Linked DNA regions of Homo sapiens: region 1 is linked to region 2. The links are contacts of gene promoters, found by promoter capture Hi-C in blood cells and fetal thymus (Javierre and others, 2016). All regions are on one chromosome and are shown on one strand. The core of a region is centred on a gene start or on the middle of the fragment in contact, and the rest is flanking DNA. Distances in the headings are between cores, read along the strand shown. Region 1 overlaps RBM39 (RNA binding motif protein 39). Region 2 holds the start of CEP250-AS1 (CEP250 antisense RNA 1).

Region 1 (4,329 bases), core at 1,568-4,067, 250 kb after region 2:
TACAAGGGTGCAAGAAACCAGTATATTTCCAGCTTCAAAGAGCATTTATTACATTAACTAAAGAAGGGTTATCGAAATCCACACTAATAGTCAAATCCTGTTACAACTTAAAAGGGACTTTCCAAAGTCTTTAATGGCAGTGAAATTTTGTACTGAACATCACTGAAGTAAATGGTCCACTGGGCTGGGCCTTTGGACTTTTTGGTTATATGGCCTCTGCAGTAAAGGTGTTTTGCTATAACTGGATTTGACCTCTTCCATGTAAGAAGATCTAAATTTTTAATGCAAAGTATTCTGGAAAATAAGAAAAAAAATAGAAAAGTCATTTATTCCAAAATTTATAGATAATCCACACCACAGTAGCCAATATATTTCAACTGTGTCATTTTAATGTTATCTTTTATTGAGTAATTCTCTAAAGAGCTTAACGGAATGGACGCTGATTTAGACTTTGCAAAACTGGTTACTTTAACAAATAATATTCCCATGAGGGCAAGCTCAAGCACTTAGGATGCATACCTTGACATATGCAAAAACTCAGGTTTACAGCTCTTCAGAAAATAGGTTGACAACCAGTCTGTGTCACAATAACTTTGTTCCTTTTACTATTCTAGGATACTATGAAGTGTATGTTAAGAATCAGAATTATACAATTAAAAAAATTTATACTCAGTCAACTGTTTCTCAGAACATGCCATTTTTCTACTACCTAACAAACTATAGCTCAATGTGGCTTTTAAGACAATGAAGTTTTAGAATGAAAAATGCAACACGGCACTTTCCTTTGGTTAAGAAATTTAATTTAGTACTAAAGGTTTAAAGCAGAGTGTTCTGTATGTTTTATATCTATTCCTAAATACAAAAATTTTCTTCCAGGTAACTTTAAAATTAATTTGAAACATAAAGTTCCTTCAGAAAATCAAGAGTCCTGATTGAACAAGGGAATCATTTATTTATCACCTATAATTGACGAGAAGTCTGACTGGAAAGTATTTTAAGATTACCAAAGTGTTTTGAAAGGATCTTCCCTTAGACAATCTCATGGTTAAAGAAAATTGTCCATTCTCCTATTTAGTCCTGTGGTTCTCTACATTAGACAAAGGCCACCGAATATCACACATGGAGAACTTGATGCTCAGCTTCCTTGTAAAAGCTTGTAGCCTTAATCAGCTTATACACAGGATAAAAACAAGTAGACACCGGAGATGACCTTAGTGGCAAAAAGCGACATGAGACAATGGTACAGTAACGAAGGTCTGTACCCAAAAGTGTACGTTCTTATCCTTCTGGCACTTGAAGCGAAATCTTTAGCCACTCGGCCTGACACCTAAATTGGATAATTTATGTCAATTTATATGGATACACCTTCCTGGGTTTTCTTTTGATTAGAGAATTGCAAAACAAAAACATTAGGAAACCATTACTGTGGCAGAAAGTCTAAAACCAGATGACATAAACCATACCTCTGGTTGGTTGCATCAGATCCCACATCAAGACTAAACCCAACCTGATCCCCACAATTTCTTGTGATTGGTGAGGAACTATAAATGACTCCCATCCAAGCTTATACCAGAAAAAAGGAGCACATTTTCTACAAATTATATCATTTTTAATCCATTACCACATTATTTTAGGGGAACTACAAAAAAAAAAAATAGTGGCTTAACAAGCCCTGAATAACATTATATATTTTCTCATCTGTTTTATGAAATTTTATCAACCTACCTAACACAGTTGTAGTGAGAAAGACTGACATACTTACTATGAAGCATTTAGGGATCTTAGGAGGAAAAGAGCCAAAAAGAAATCAAATAAATGGCTATTTTTCTCTCGTTTTTCATTAACATAAGGTCGTAAGTATGACAGATTTTTATGTTTGTTTGAGACGGAGTCTCGCTCTGTCTCCAGGCTGGAGTACAATGGCATAATCTCAGCTCATTACAACCTCTGCCTCCCAGGTTCAAGCGATTCTCCTGCCTCAGCCTCCCGAGAGTAGCTGGGACTACAGGCGTGCACCACCACGCCCAGCTAATTTTTGTATTTTTAGTAGAGACGGGGTTTCACCATGTTGGCCAGGATGGTCTCGATCTCCTGACCTTGTGATCCACCCGCCTGAGCCTCCCAAAGTGCTGGGATTACAGGTGTGAGCCACCACGCCAAGCCCAGACTTTTTTTTTAAGACGGAGTCTCAGTTGGGTCCATGTCTCACGCCTGTAATCCCAGCACTTTGGGAAGCCAAGGCGGGCGGATCATGAGGTCAAGAGATGGAGACCATCCTGGCCAACATCGTGAAACCCTGTCTCTACTAAAAACACAAAAATTGGCTGGGCATGATGGCTCACGCCTGTAATCCCAGCACTTTGGGAGGCCAAGGCAGGTGGATCACGAGGTCAGGAGTTGAAGACCAGCCTGGCCAGGATGGTGAATCCCCATCTCTACCAAAAGTACAAAAATTAGCCAGGTGCGGTGGCAGGCACCTGTAATCCCAGCTGCTCGGGAGGCTGAGGCGGAAGAATCGCTTAAGCCCGGGTGGCAGAGGTTGCAGTGAGCCAAGACTGCGCCACTGCACTCCAGCCTGGGCAACAGACTGAAACTCCATCTCAAAAAAAAAAAAAAAAAAAAATTAGCCAGGCGTGGTGGCAGGAACCTGTAATCCCAGCTACTCGGGAGGCTGAGGCAGGAGAACTGCCTGAACCCAGGAGGCAGAGGTTGCTGTGAGCTGAGATCGTGTCATGGCGCTCCAGCCTGGGTGACAAAAACGAAACTCTGTCTCAAAGAAAAAATAAAGACAGAGGCTGGGCACGGTGGCTCACACCTGTAATCCCAGCACTTTTGGAGGCCAAGGCAGGCGGATCACAAGGTCAATTCTGGCTAACACAATGAAACCCTGTCTCTACTAAAATTACAAAAAATTAGCCAGGCATGGTGGCAGGCGCCTGTAGTCCCTGCTACCTGGGAGGCTGAGGCAGGAGAATAGCATGAACCCAGGAGGCGGAGCTTGCAGTGAGCAGAGATCACACCACTGCACTCCAGCCTGGGCAACAGAGCAAGACTCCGTGTCAAAAAAAAAAAAAAAAAAAAAAAGGCCAGGCGCGGTGGCTCACACCTGTAATCCCAACACTTTGGGAGGCCACAGCAGGAGGATCATGAGAGGTCAGGAGATGGAGACCATTCTGGCTAACACGGTGAAACTCCCTCTCTACTAAAAATAAAAAAAAAATTAGCCAGGCGTGATGGCGCGCGCCTGTAGTCCCAGCTAATCGGAGGCTGAGGCAGGGGAATCACTTGAATCTGGGAGGCAGTGGTTGCAGTGAGCCGTGATAGAACCACTGCACCCCAGCCTGGGCGACACTGCCAGACTCCATGTCAAAGAAAAAAAAAAAAATCAAAGAATCACTTGAACCCAGGAGGCGGAGGTTGCAGTGAGCCCAGACTGCGCCACTGCGCTCCAGCCTGGGCTACAGAGCAAGACTCCGACTCACAAGAAAAGAAAAAAAAAAAGTGGATCTCATCATATCTGTTACCTAAGACTTTTCGTACACTGTTTTCTGTACTAGTCTATAGCAGAGTTCTATTGAGTCACTCATCTTACCCAAATAAAGTGTACAGATATATTCATAATTTCCAAAATCCCCACCCTGTTAAGTCTAGAGTTTAAAAGGCCTAAGATAATGAAAGCCACCTTTAGAAGTACTTAAGTACCTGTTCCATCACTTCCAAAAGGGCCTCTGAGCAGCAAGTTGCAGAAATAATTCACAGCTTTGACTCCTTCGGCACTTTAGGGCAAACAATACTTTCCATGGCCTAGTTATCACCTAATTTAACTCTTTCTACCTTTTAAGATCAATGGATATATAACAGTTTTATCAGTAAGATAACCAAATATCAAACCAAAGTTAACAAATTTAAAACAAGACAACCTCTAATACAGAACTTGTCACCAGATTGTCATGATGGACTTGGAGGGGAAGGTATCTGAAACTATATTCTGAAATCTAAGCAAAAAAATCCACAGTTCCTCCAAGAGTTTGTCTCAAAAGGCAAAGAACCAATTTTCTAAAAGCAGCAAAGAAAAGCTTCAGAAGAGAATTTTGTATACTTTAGCCACAGGAACACAACTTAAGGTCTAAAACCACAAAAAAGCTCACCACCCTCCCCCAAGCCCCTTCTTAAAACTCACTTTTTGCTACGTTCTTCATGGCCGTTGGCACTGCTCAACTTGTTCTCATCCTAAGCAGGGTTGATAGAAGAACATCATGAGGACGAAGTGGTAACATTTCAAGTTGTCAAAGGGTAAAGGGAACAGGAATAAGAAAATACAAAACAATT
Region 2 (3,764 bases), core at 403-2,902:
ATAAGCAACGACAAACTTACAAGCATTTTAAAGGAAAAGTGCAGGGAATACTAATGTGATGATGATGCTGGCTGTTGTGTATTGCCCGCTTTCTGTGTGCTACGCACATTTAAAGTGATTCACATGACTTATCTCCATCCTCAATACAACCTGAGGAGAATGACACTGTTGTTATCCCCATTTTAATAGATGAAGAAACTGAGGCACAGAGTTGTTTAGAAATTGAGATCATGCTAGTAGTGGTAGATTAAAGATTCTCCACCCAGGCAGCCCAACTCCAGAGCCCTTCACCTCTATCCTGTACACCTAATAGAGGGTCCTGAACTAGTCAGAGAGCTTGGGAAAGCTTTGGTTGCTGGAAGACCGCTAAGACAAGAAGCACCCCTATCCTAATGCTCTTATATAATACAGGGAGACATCCTCACTGGGCCAGGCCTGATTCTTCAGGGGCTAACTCTGCAACTCTGAGTAGAGGAGAGCAGGCAGCAGACAGCCAGAATTGGCCGCCTCAGTTCATTGTTACAACTGTCAACCACAATGTGGCTGCTTTAAAGATAACAAATACGGAGCTGTGTGTGGTGTCATGCCCCTGTGTTCTTAGCTACTCAGGAGGCTGAGGCAGGAGGACCACTTGCGCCCAGGAGTTCGAGTCCAGCCTGGGCAACATAGTGAGACCCCATCTCTAAAAATAAGAATGCCTAGGCTAGGCACAGTGGCTCATGCCTATAATCCCAGCACTTTGGGAGGCCGAGGCAGGCAGATCACTTGAGGTCAGGAGTTCATGACCAGCCTGGCCAACATGTTGAAACCCCATCTCTACTAAAAATACAAAAATTAGCTGGGCATGGTGGGGGGCACCTGTAGTCCCAGCTGCTAGGGAGGCTGAGACAGGAGAATCACTTGAACCTGAAAGGTGGAGGTTGCAGTGAGCGGAGATCGTGCCACTGCAGTCCAGCCTGGGTGACAGGGCAAGACTCCGTCTCCAAAAAAAAATTAAAAATAGAAATACATTTTAAAACCCAGATACTTGTAGCATATATAAGGGACAATTGCAGTTTGGAAGGTACTTCCACATGTATTATATAATTTTATTTTTTAAAATGAATCTCATTTGGTTGTCATGAAATTTGGTAAGATAGATAAGGCAGGGAATATTAGCCTTGCTTTACAGATGAGGCAACAGGCTTAGAGAGGTACCAAGGTCACCCCACTAGTGAGTAGTAGAGAGACTTTGTTTTTCCAATCCAGTACCCCTGCCTCCCCTCCTCACCCATTTGGTTCTAATGGTGTTTCCTTCATGTGGCCAGGAGAAGGAGCGCTCCTGGCACCAGCAGGAGCTGGCAAAGGCTCTGGAGAGCTTAGAAAGGGAAAAAATGGAGCTGGAAATGAGGCTAAAGGAGCAGCAGACAGAAATGGAGGCCATCCAGGCCCAGAGGGAAGAAGAACGGACCCAGGCAGAGAGTGCCCTATGCCAGGTGGGAAGCTAGGAGGATTGGAGCTGCACGTCCAGTCAGCGATCTCCTTACCTTGACCACTTCCTTTTCTACTCCCAAGAGGAGTGCTGCAGAGGGGCTTCCAGAAGAGAGGGTAGCTACCCACTTTGCTAACAGTGAGCAGGGTGGTCCGCACCATTAGCCACAGTTCCGGCAGTATGTCATACTTCCTGAGGGAGGGCTGACATGTACCACATCCTGTCAGCTTGCAAACCAGTGGTAATCTTTGCACTTCCTTGTTCTGAACCCATGGGCTCAGACCTTCCTTTGCCCTCAGCCCCTTCCCATTTGCTAGGAGAGCCCTAGGGCAGCTGGGATGTGCTTGTGGCCTCGTTGGTGAGCATGGTAATCCTGAGCCCACAAGCTGTTACCCCCCTACCCCTCCACAGATGCAGCTGGAAACAGAGAAGGAGAGAGTATCCCTCCTGGAGACACTGCTGCAGACGCAGAAGGAGCTAGCAGATGCCAGCCAACAACTGGAACGACTGAGGCAGGACATGAAAGTCCAGAAATTAAAGGAGCAGGTATGGAGGGTGGTCTCGGGAGTAGGGGAGAAAGGGGCACTCATTTACCCATTCGACCATGAAGGGTTCTTGGGCACTTCTTATGTGCCAGGCCCTGTGCTAGGTGCTGACATATGACAAGTACATAAAGGTATGGCACAGGCTGGGCAGGGTAGATCACGCCTGTAATCCCAGCACTTTGGCAGGCCAAGGTGGGTGGATCACCTAAGGTCAGGAGTTAAAGACCAACCTGAGCAACATGGTGAAACCCATCTCTACTAAAAATACAAAAATTAGCCGGGCATGGTGGCAGGCCCCTGTAATCCCAGCACATTGGGAGGCTGAGGCGGACAGATCAGTTGAGGTCAGGAGTTCGAGACTAGCCTGGCCAACATGGTGAAACCTCATCTCTACAAAAATACAAAAATTAGCTGTGTGTGGTGGCATTTGCCTGTAATCCCAGCTGCTTGGGAGGCTGAAGCAGGAGAATAGCTTGAGCCCAGGAGGCGGAGGTTGCAGTGAGCCGAGGTCACGCCACTGCATTCCAGCCTTGGTGATAGAGCGAGTCTCAAAAAAAAAAAAAAAAAAAAAAAGGTGTGGCACAGCAGTCAGCATAACAGACATTGCCCCTGCTCTCAAGGAACTTACATTCCTGTGGCAGAAATGGATGACAAATGAGCAGACACAAAGTAAATGAGATTATTACAGTTTGTGATAAGTGCTGTAAAGGAAATAGAATGATACAACTGAGAGTGAGTCAAAGGAGGTTCACTTTGCACTTAGTGGTCAGGGAAGGCCTCACTGAGAAAGTAACATCTGAGCTGAGACTTGAAGGTTAGAAAGAAACCAGCTCCGTGATACAACATAGGTGAACCTTGAAAACATCAGGTTAAGTGGAAGAGCCATATATTTTATATGATATGCTTCCATTTATATGAAACACCAAGAATAGGCAACTCTATAGAGGCAGAAAACAGATTTATGGTGGGGAATGGGGTGGGGAATGGGGATTGACTGTGAATGGGCACGGGGTTTATTTTGGGATTGATGGAAATGTTCTAAGATTGATTGCGATGATAGTTGCACAACTCTGTGAATATCCTAAAACCCACTACACAGTATACGTTAAATGAGTGAATTGTATGGTATATGAGTTATATCTCAAGCCATTTGAAAAAAAAAATGCCTGCCATGTGAAGAACACTTTAGGCAGAGGAAACACCTGTCGCAAGGGCCCTGGGACACAGAAGAGGGCTTGGGAAGTTCAAGGACAAAAAGGAGGCAGTGTGGCTCCAGCTTGATAAACTCAGGGGCGAGTGGAGCGGTAGCCAGAAGCCCTGTGTCAGCCATTGTAGGAGCTTGGATTTTGTTCTAAGAGCAATGGGAAACTGTTGGGTGGTATGTATGTATGTATTTGTTTGAGACTGAGTCTCGCTCTGTCACCCAGGCTAGAGTGCGGTGGCACTATCTCAGCTCACTGCAACCTTCGCCTCCCAGGTTCAAGCAATTCTTGTGCCTCAGCCTCCCAAGTAGCTGGGATTACAGGTGCCCGCCACCATGCTTGGCTAATTTTTGTATTTTTAGTGGAGAAAGGGTTTCACCATGTTGGCCAGGGTCGTCTCAAACTTCTGACCTCAAGTGATCCACCCACCTTGGTTTCCCTAAGTGTTGGGATGATAGGCGTGAGCCACCGCGCCTGGGCAGTTGGATGGTATTTAAAAAGCAGGGGTGGGATATGATTTATTTATATATACGTATACATATGTAT

The links. Contacts are between HindIII fragments. The CHiCAGO score rates a contact against its expected background, and 5 or more counts as called.
Region 1: a contact is called between a fragment that was not itself captured here and the fragment with the promoter of CEP250-AS1 in region 2, in 1 of 17 cell types (erythroblasts). The highest score is 5.3, in erythroblasts.

Annotation. Positions count from the first base shown.
Region 1 is chr20:35,734,788-35,739,116 of GRCh38, forward strand. RBM39 (RNA binding motif protein 39) reads right to left here. Exons shown (of 17, transcript NM_184234.3): 3 at 4,181-4,230. Among named protein-coding and RNA genes, the nearest start is that of RBM39, 5.3 kb to the right of the region's middle. The HindIII fragment of the contact is 2,513 bases long and covers 1,562-4,074 here.
Region 2 is chr20:35,489,330-35,493,093 of GRCh38, forward strand. It overlaps CEP250-AS1 (CEP250 antisense RNA 1), which reads right to left and starts at 1,653. Exons shown (of 3, transcript NR_184017.1): 1 at 1,527-1,653. CEP250 (centrosomal protein 250) reads left to right here. Exons shown (of 35, transcript NM_007186.6): 21 at 1,308-1,475; 22 at 1,883-2,017. RefSeq lists an enhancer at 1,452-1,611. The HindIII fragment of the contact is 5,140 bases long and covers 345-3,764 here.